2 separate regions of the Homo sapiens genome follow, and region 1 is linked to region 2. Evidence: promoter capture Hi-C in human tissues and cell types (Jung and others, 2019). All regions are on one chromosome and are shown on one strand. The core of a region is centred on a gene start or on the middle of the fragment in contact, and the rest is flanking DNA. Distances in the headings are between cores, read along the strand shown. Region 1 has its middle 54 kb from the start of ZNF568. Region 2 holds the start of ZNF382 (zinc finger protein 382).

Region 1 (5,048 bases), core at 83-2,582, 360 kb after region 2:
ATCAACCAAAAGCATAATGAGTTGTTTCATCACAATGGTCCTGTCTCCATGGCAGATCATAATGTCCACAGTAAAGAATCTCATCTTTCTCTACAAGATAGGTGTTTTTGCCCCATTAGTGCTTGGAATAGAACACTGGGCATGAAGGAGAATCTCAACAACATGAAAATGCATATCTCTTAACAGTGGTGTTGTAGTTTCTTGTGGGCTAAATTGAAAACCCAGGAACAAAATAAAAACTTGGTTGTATTTGAAATTATCCCATAAAATATCTAAGATGTCCTACAAAGCATATAACATGGATCAGTTATCCAACACTGAAGAATAATATGTATATATGTGTGTCAACTGTACACCATAATATCCATACATGGTAGAAAGTCCACTTATAAAATGTAATTTCATGATTCATATTTATATGAGAAAAATACATACAAATTTATATGAGAGTAACACATATTAATTTACATGAAAATGTAACATATACCTTATATTAAATATGCATATGGGCCAGGTGCAGTGGCTCACACCTGTAATCCCAACACTTTGGGAGGCCGAGGCAGGTAGATCACGAAGTCAGGAGATCAAGACCAGCCTGGCCAACATGGTGAAACCCCATCTCTACTAAAAATACAAAAATTAGCCGGGCGTGGTGGCGGGTGTCTGGAGTCCCAGCTTGGACCCAGGAGGCAGAGGTTGCAGTGACCTGAGATTGCGCCACTGCACTCCAGCCTGGCAACAGAGCAAGACTCTGTCTCCAAAAAAAAAAAAAAACTATATATATATATATGCATATGATTGTTAAAAAAGAGGAGATTCATATGGTCTGAAGTTATCATCCCTCAGGTTACTTACCAATTAAAAAGGGGAAAAATAACTACAATGGAGACATGTGGCCATTACCATCTTAGCCAAGTGATCAAATTGGCTCACTGCCTCAAAAAAAAAAAAACATGTTTAGTACTGAAGTATAATGATTCTTGAATTTATTTTCAAATGGTAGAGAGAGAATCAAAAGTGGCAAATTGTTAAATTGTTGACAATTTGTGAATCTAAGGGACAAGCATGAATGAGTTCTTTTTTTTTTTCTTTTCAGAGTCTTGCTCTGTCCCCCAGGCAAGAGTGCAGTGGCACAATCTCAGCTCACTGCAACCTCCGCCTCCTAGGTTCAAGCGATTCTCCTGCCTCAGCCTCCTGAGTAGGTGGGATTACAGGCACGTGCCACCATGCCTGTCTAATTTTTTGTATTTTTAGTAGAAACGGGCTTTCACGGTATTAGCCAAGATGGTCTCAATCTCCTGACCTCCTGATCCAGCCACCTCAGCCTCCCAAAGTGCTGGGATTACAGGTGTGAGCCACCACACCCAGCCCCAATACAAGTTCTTTGTAGTATTCTTTCAATGCTTCTGGAGATTTGAAACTTGCCAAAATAAACAACTGAAGTAAATGTGCCTAGGAAGTGGGAAGGCACTGAGCTTATTGGGGACATACCCAAAGACCCCACTGGAACAGAACTAAAGAACCAGTTCTCTGATTCGTTACCATAAGAGAGGAAGTTTCAGGAGAAGGAATGCAAAAGTTCTATATCCTAATTGAAAGAGAGCGAAAGAAAATATCTCAAGCAAGGAAGGACAGGCTTATCAAGGATATAGTTTTTTGATGAATGACAGGTCATCCCAACCTCTTCCTGCTGAGGGAAGATTTCTTCATCTAGATACTGAGGTCAGAAGTGTGAAATGAGTCCTGTGGGCTAAAATCCAGGTGTCATAAAACCGTGTTCTTTCTCTAGGTTCTAGGGGAGAATCTATTTCCTTGTCTTTTCCAGCTTCTAGAAGCTGCCTGCGTTCTTTTGCTTATGGCACTTTCCTCCGTCTTCAAAGCACATCCCCGCTTTCGTTGTCATGATTTCCTCTCTGACTCTGACCCTCCTGCCTTCCTCTTTTAAGGACCCTTGTTGGGCCTACTCAGTAATCCAGCATAATCTTCCCATCTCAAGATTTTTTTTTTTTTTTTTTTTTTTTTTTTTTTGAGATCAAGTCTCACTCTGCCGCCCAGGCTGGAGTGCAGTGGCGAGATCTTGGCTCACTGCAACCTCTGCCTCCCGAGTACCTAGGACTACAGGCATGCACCATCATGCCTGGCTAATTTTTGTATTTTTAGTAGAGACTGGGTTTCACCACGTTGTCCAGGCTGATCTCAAACTCCTTACCTCAAGTGATCCGCCCACCTCGGCCTCCCAAAGTGCTGGATTACAAGCATGAGCCACGATGCCTGGCCTCCATCTCAAGATTATTAGTTGAAGCATATCTGCTGCAGAGCCTCTTTTGCCATGTAAGATATATTCACAGGTTCTGGGGGTTAGGATTTGAACGTCTTGGGGCATTATTCTACCACTTTGTCTTATTGGCATAATTTATGAATTTCTTTTTTCCCAATCCTTTGACATAACTATATAAATTTTATACATTATTGAAATCAGCCTTTTATTTGGAACTTTTGCATCTATAACCACAAATGAAATTAATACTTTTCTTTTGGCCTGTCTTTATTGAATTTCTTTTCTTTTCTTTTCTTTCTTTTGGAGACAGTCTCGCTCTGTCGCCCAGGCTGGAGTGCAGTGCCCCAATCTTGGCTCACTGCAACCTCTGCCTCCGGGTACAAGTGATCCTCCAGCCTCAGCCTCCCCAGTAGCTGGAAGTACAGGTGTGCGCCACCACATCCGGCTAATCTTTGTAGAAAGGGGGTTTTGCCATGTTGCCGAGGCTGGTCTCAAACTCCTAGCCTCAAAGTGATGCTCCTGCCTCAGCCTCCCAAACTGCTGAGATTACAGGTATGAGCCACCATGCCCGGCCATGTCTTTAATAAATTTTATGCCACTTAGACAAAAATTCATTGGAGAGCATATATAAGTTGGATATAAATACATTGAATAATCATTATTAGTTCAAAAATTAGCTAAAATTCAGCTATAACCATCTGGGTATGGTACCTTTTTAATTGTACATACTTTAAAATATCTTAAATAAAATAAAGCATTTCATTATGGTTATTATTCTGTTCAGATTTTCTACTTCTTAGTAGAAATCAGTGATTTAAATTTCATTAGAAAATCTACAGTTTCCTCTACCATGGTTATAGAGTTGTACATAACAGCCTCAAAATTCTTTTAAACCCAGGCCTGGGCACGGTGGCTCACTCCTGTAATCCCAGCACTTTGGGAGGCTGAGGTGGGCGGATCACCTGAGGTCAAGAGTTTGAAACCAGCCTGGCCAACGTGATGAAACCTCGTCTCTACTAAAAATACAAAGAATACAGGCGGGCACCTGTAATCCCAGTTACTTGGGAGGCTGAGGCAGGAGAATCACTTGAACCCGGGAGGCAGAGGTTGCAGTGAGCTGAGACGGCATCACTGCACACCAGCCTGGGCAACAAGAGCAAAACTCCGTCTCAAGAAAAAAAAAAACTCTTAAACTCTTTATGTTTTTTTTTTCGCATTTCTAATGTTTTTGCTTTATTTTGCTCTTGTATATCAGTCTTGTGTTTCATTTATCTTTTAGTACTAAACTGTGGATTTTTAAATTTTGGTCCAGTAGTTTGTTTTCTAGTTTGTAAACTAGAAATACTTAAGAATTTTTTTTAATGAAATGTTATAAGTAATGTTTCACAAGAAAGAAACGATAATGGCCAAAAATATAAGGGACTACTTTTTAACTGAAAAGAAAAAAAGTCACAATTACACATCCTAGAAGTTAACTGCTGTTAACAATTAACTTTAAAGATATTATTGCCCAAGTGCCTATGTTTCTGCTATTTATAACTTTGTTTTTTTTCTTTTTGAGACGCAGTCTCGCTCTATCGCCAGGCTGGAATGCACCTCCTTAGTAGCTGGGACTACAGGTGCACACCACCACGCCAGGCTAATTTTTGTATTTTTAGGAGAGACGAGGTTTCACCATGTTGGCCAGGATGGTCTCGATCTCCTGACCTTGTGATCTGCCTGCCTCGGCCTCCCAAAGTGCTAGGATTACAGGCGCGAGCCACTGCGCCTGACCTATTTATAACTTTTTTTTTTTTTTGAGATGAAGTCTCACTGTCACCAGGCTGGAGTGCAGTGGTACAGTCTCGGCTCACTGCAACCTCCGCCTCCCAGATTCAAGGTATTCTCTTAGCCTCCTGAGTAGCTGGGACTACAGGTGCGCGCCACCACACCCAGGTAAATTTTGTATTTTTAGTAGAGACAGGGTTTCACCATGTTGGCCAGGATGGTCTTGATCTCTTGACCTCGTGATCCGCCCGCCTTGGCCTCCCAAAGTGCTGGGATTACAGGTGTGAGCCACCGTGCCCAGCCTATAACATTTTTAAATACAGTATTTATTTTAAAAAATTGGTTTATTTTAGTAGCACTTTTAGTAACACAAAAGTGCTTTTATTTTAGTAGCACTTTTAGTAACACAAAAGTGCTACTAAAATTGGTTTATTTTAGTGGCACTTTTCCAGGTCCTAAAGTATTTCTCGAACATACTTCTGTCATTAAATATCCTTCTGCAACTTAATCCTCAAATAATGACGTTGCAGCCCACTATATTGGTTTTCCGTTATTTCCGCTGCAGACCCAACTATCCCTCATCCTTCTCCAGTCCCTTCGGCATCCTGAGCCTGTGACTGCGCCCCTTCAGTCTCTCCTAGGCCACATCCCCAAACCTCTAGGACAGGTCGTTTCCCAGACACCCTCCAGGCCAGCCTGTGGCCCGGCCCGAGCAGAAATTAGTGACTTAAATGTTGAGATGCCAGAAGACCTGGACTGGGGCATGAATTCCCAGCCCAAACTTAGCCACCCGGCTTTATCGGGATTGTGGCCCAGGTCAGTGAAGCCCCAGGTCCGGGCCGACTCCTAATTCGTGGCGTGGCCGGGAGTCGCCCTCTCCTGATCCACCCCAGAGCGCGGCTCCCTGTGGAGGGTACCCTGGGTGGTCCGCTCCCTGGCTTTTTACAGCACTTGTGAGAGGCCTTTGGGCACACACACAAACCCCACTCCCTGACCCTCCGTT
Region 2 (5,013 bases), core at 948-3,447:
ACCATTCAAACGATCTCCTATCTTGCTGTTTTTCCACTCATGTCTCTGAAGAAAATCTAAACTATCTAATGTGTAATTCTACCTAAGCAATTGGTCTCCTCCGTAACAAATCACCGTGTGAAGGCAGACTATTTCTATGTCATGAGAATGCTTAAACAAAAAGAGCACACAGGAGAAGTGAACATACTGTCAAGGTGTTATATGAAAATTAACTCTAGGAAGGGCATCTGATGAGGTACTGGAAAGAAGGAGATCTGTCTTCATAATGTCATCAGTAACTGGGAAGAGAAGGACTAGAGACCAGGTAAATAGATAAGTCACTATTTGGTGAGCATTTCAAATGAAGTTATTCCACATCCTGAAAAACAAAAATGCATTTCATAAAACAAAGAAAAAAATCAAAATGACCTCCAGCTTTGCTTTAAAATGTGCAACTACAATGCTTTTCTTCTCTCAGAGCTCTTCTCTTGGAATACAGCAAAATGTGGAAAGAAAGGGAATCACAATATACTCAGCCTTTCTTGGAGCCCAGACAGGCTAAATAAGAACACATTCTTCACCACCGGCAAGCTTCCATAACCCATGCTGAATATGACCAGATGGAAGTATGAGAAAGACTGGAATATTGTTGACTCTTCCCTTCATAAAGAAAAGTCAGGTTCACCAAAGCCTGGGACTGAAATGTTTCTGTATTCACAATAATTTCCTTTAGACAGCTATGAAAATGCTGTGGATCTGCAATATTCAACTTGCCCCCACAGAGCTTCCAAAAGGGATCTTTTGGCTAGGCACGGTGGCTCACGCCTGTAATCCCAGCACTTTGGGAAGCCGAGGCGGGTGGATCACCTGAGGTCAGGAGTTCGAGACCAGTCTGACCAACATGGTGAAACCCCGTCTCTACTAAAAATACAAAAATGAGCCGGGCATGGTGGTGCATGCCTGTAATCCCAGCTACTCGGGAGGCTGAGGCAGGAGAATTGCTTGAACCCGGAAGGCGGAGGTTGCAATGAGCCGAGATTGCGCCACTGCACTCCAGCCTGGGCAACAAGAGCAAAACTCCATCTCACACACACACACAAAATCTTTGGAGAAACGAATCCTACTCCTGGGGCCTCAATATCATATCTTCCCAGAACCTTGCCTTGGGAGCAATTCCAGCTCTAACATCTCCATATCAAACACGAGGCTGTGCATATCAGAACACAGCCTTGTCCATGTGAAACACAAGGCTGTGCTTTTTCAGTTGGAAACTTCATTCTGGATCTCAAATATCCAACTTTCTTTTCGATAGCCATTTGACTGCACACTGTGCAACGTGGTTATAAGGTGAAATGACTGAGGCAGTGAAAGAAATCCCAGTATAACAAACTCCAAGAAACCACGTAACTTAAAATTGGCCCCAGAGGTTGGCGAGGCTGCATGCCACTGTGTATTATGCATTATGAAAGCGACAGGGGCCATGCTTTAGAACAGAAGGTCTCAGAGTCTTCACAGACACAGATCGAGCCATACGGGGACCTTGTCCACGTATTCCTGAGCCCCAGAACTGCAGAAATCAAACTCTACAAAAGCTGCACCAGGCCAGTTTTGATCACAGTCTCCAGTGGGTCACAACAGCGCTGTCACAGGATCACTGATAACAGCATGACACATTCATAGTCACCGCTCAGCGCCGTCACACAAACGGCCCCGCCCCCACTCAGTCCCGCGGGCCCAATCGGGGACAGTCAGGGCTGTCCCGGGCTGTGCACCTGCTGTGCACACACACCCCCTGCTGTGCACACCCCCCGCCCCCCCGGGACCATCACAGGCGCGCCCACTCACACCACCACACACGGACGCAGCCACAGAACGGCACACACAAACACAATCACACAGTCTCCCTCCCCAGCAGGTGACTTGCACACAGGCCTGGGGCTTCTGCCTCCACAAACCCTCTCCGCGTCCCATGAACCCAGGTCCCCTGCCGTGAGCTCTTCTCGCATCCAGACCCGGGTCACCTCAACTCACCACATGGAAAACGAACACCAGGTCAACGGAAAAGGGAGCCGGGGTCCTGGCAGAAGCGTAGTGCCAGCCGCAATAGGGCGGCCGTGGGTGCAAACGGAGGGGAGCGCCGGCAGCTAGCACCGCGCGGCGACTAACGGGCCGCCCCGGAGACTCCTGGGAGCTCAGGCCCACGCGCGAGTGCGCAGGCGCAGACGACTCACCCTGGGCCGGGGGTGAGGCTTGGTGGGTGCCAGGGGTGCTGAGGAGGCCAAGGAGGGCACTGGGAGCTCCGTTCCGGGAGAGCTGTCTAAGGACGCGGAACCGGGTGGGGAGGCCAGGGAGGTAACCAAGAGTCCGAGCCGGGCCTGGAAATTCTGAGGAGGAAACCGGGACCGCGGTATCCAGACGCTCCGATCTGTACGAGCCGGGCCTCGGGCGTGGTCCATGGGCGTGACCTTGAGGGTGACCCGGAGCGAGCTCCGCGAAGGGGGATTTTGCCCGTTCTGATCCCGCGGAAGCGCCATCGCTGGCGGCGGGTCCCCGCGCGGAGCGGGCGCTGTGTGTTCGCGCGCGCGGGCGCGCGCTGAATAGGGGTGGCCTCCTGCGCCCAACCTGCTGCATTTTAGGTGCTTGCCTCTCTTTGGGATGTTGTGGCCGATTGTGTGTGAAAAGTGAACGGAGTAGTGTTGCTGCGCGAGGTTTCCTCTGCGTGTGTCTATTTTTAGATTAGGTGTGAGTCGCATTTGAGACTGCCTTTGAGTGTGGAGAATTGCAAGTGATTTGTAGGTGTGGTTGTGACTGCCTGGAGTCGTGTTAGCTGCTGTCTGAGGTTGTGAATGACAAGTGGGGCCTGTAGGTTGGTGGTTCTCTGAAGGATGTTTGATTGACTGTGACTCTGCATGTGTTTGTAACCTACTGTTACTTCTGGTGGTTTTGTGGCCTTAGTGACCTAAATATTTGAATGATTGAGGAACTCTGTTATGACCATGGCTAGTTGGTTATGTAAGACTTGATTATCTGAATAGTAGCCATTAAGCCTGCCTCCAAAACTGTAACTAAGTAGCAATTTAGCAAATAAAATAGAGATAACAGTATCAGAGGGGAAGAGATGATTTTCATAATTCCCAGATTCATTTCCTGGAAACACCATATTAACTAAAACCAGTATGTTGAAATGAATAGCATTCCATTGGGGACATGCAGGAAATTTTTTTTTTTTTTTTTTTTTTACCATAACTACCACTTTTGTTGTTGTTTTTTGTTTGTTTTAAGACAAGGTCTTGCTCTTTTGCCCAGGCTGGAGTGTAGTGGCATGATCTCTGCTCACTGCCACCTCTACCTCTGAAGTTCAAGTGATTCTCCTGCCCCAGCTTCCTGAGTAGCTGGGACTACAGGCTTGTGCCACCACGCTCGGCTAGTTTTTGTATTTTTAGTAGAGATGGGGTTTCACCATGTTGCCCAGGCTGGTCTTGAACTCCTGACCTCAAGTGATCCCCTCCCCCCGCCCCCTCGGCCTGCCAAAGTACTGGGATTACAGGTGTGAGCCACTGTGCCTGGCATAACTACCACTTTCAACACTTGTATATGAGTGAGGTTTCCTACTCCCTTAGGCTTGCTAAGATAATAAAAAGTATTTGATAGATTTTTAATAAGTCCAGTCTCACTGTAGTAATTAAAATAGTTATTTTGCGGGCCTGGTGCAGTGACTGATGCCTGTAATCCCAGCATTTTGGGAGGCCAAGGTGGGCAGATCACCTGAGATCGAGAATTCGAGACCAGCCTGACCAACATGGAGAAACCCCATCTCTACTAAAAATACAAAATTAGCCGGGCATGGTGGTGCATGCCTGTAATCCCAGCTACTCAGGAGGCTGAGGCAGGAGAATCGCTTGAACCCGGGAGGTGGAGGTTGCGGTCAGTCAAGATTGTACCATTGCACTCCAGCCTGGGCAACAAGAGTGAAACTCTGTCTCAAAAAAAAAAAAAAAAAAGATTATTCTCAACTACAACATAGACCAGATAGGCAAAGATTTAAAAGTTGTCAACTGTCTTCATCAGGGCTTGGGAAGGTATTCTCATCCACTACTATCAGTGTAAATTGGCAAAAAGTCCAAGAAGAACCGTTTGGAAATACACAGTAAACCTGTGGTTAGAGGTAGATGGAAGGCAGAGCTGCAGAGGGAAAAACACAGTGTTCCCTCTCTTCAAGCTAAAACAGGTTCCCCAGAATCCTGTATACTTTACCAAGAGACTGGGTTTCTGGTGTTTGTGAGGGAGCCTGATTTGTCTGTTTTCCCACTAACTACCATCCTGGACATCTGAAGGGTACACAGGGTGGACAAGTGCTGAAATAGTGAACATTCATGCAGATTTAACTGAGTTAATTCTGGGAGTTCTGAGTCAAGTATGGTCTCACATACGTATATCCTCCATCTTTGCTTTCTCAGGACTGTTTCTTTTTCCAAAAGAGGAGCTCAAAAGAGAAAGTTCATCTAGAAATCTCAAAGCCATGTCTCAGGTGAGATGATGTTTCCTCTCTTTCTGAAATAACTTTTTTTCATGGTGTATGAACATGAGCTTCACTGTCCTTTAACCTTCCCTGATATTGGGATTTGCTTCCATGAAATTAGTCTTCAGTCAGGGCCAGATTAGGCTGAGGCAGGCAAGTGGCATGAGGTGAAATATTTAAGGGGTACCCTCAGGGCTGTGCCCTCCTAAATTTTGCATTCTAGGTGCCTCACCTGCCTCACCCTGTATCCAGCCCTGTTCACAATTTCTCCATTCCAACCAAATCAACTTAAGCCTTCCCCAAGTGTACCTTCTGGTTGTACATATTCATTGGGTATATCATTCATCATCTCCTTTCTCAGTCTTCTCACAAACAAACTGCTGGAATAGAAAGGTATTGTCTTGATTTAAATGGGAATATATGGCTTGAATGAATTTAACTTGTCCTGATGCTGATTTGAGACCTAAGCTGTGAGTAGTCATGGAGCAGACGTGGAAAAACCTTGATGATCTCCG

What was found. The method cuts DNA at HindIII sites, captures the fragments that hold promoters and counts their contacts. A contact is called where the count stands out against the background at its distance.
Region 1: a contact is called between a fragment that was not itself captured here and the fragment with the promoter of ZNF382 in region 2, in 2 of the 25 tissues and cell types used here (aorta and liver).

Annotation. Positions count from the first base shown.
Region 1 is chr19:36,967,785-36,972,832 of GRCh38, forward strand. It overlaps a transcript of ZNF568 not described here. Among named protein-coding and RNA genes, the nearest start is that of ZNF568, 54 kb to the left of the region's middle. The HindIII fragment of the contact is 7,190 bases long and covers 1-4,927 here.
Region 2 is chr19:36,603,116-36,608,128 of GRCh38, forward strand. ZNF382 (zinc finger protein 382) reads left to right here and starts at 2,198. Exons shown (of 5, transcript NM_032825.5): 1 at 2,198-2,232; 2 at 4,437-4,507. It also overlaps a transcript of ZNF529 not described here. RefSeq lists enhancers at 1,470-1,609, 2,590-2,649 and a silencer at 2,170-2,229. The HindIII fragment of the contact is 9,037 bases long and covers 1-5,013 here.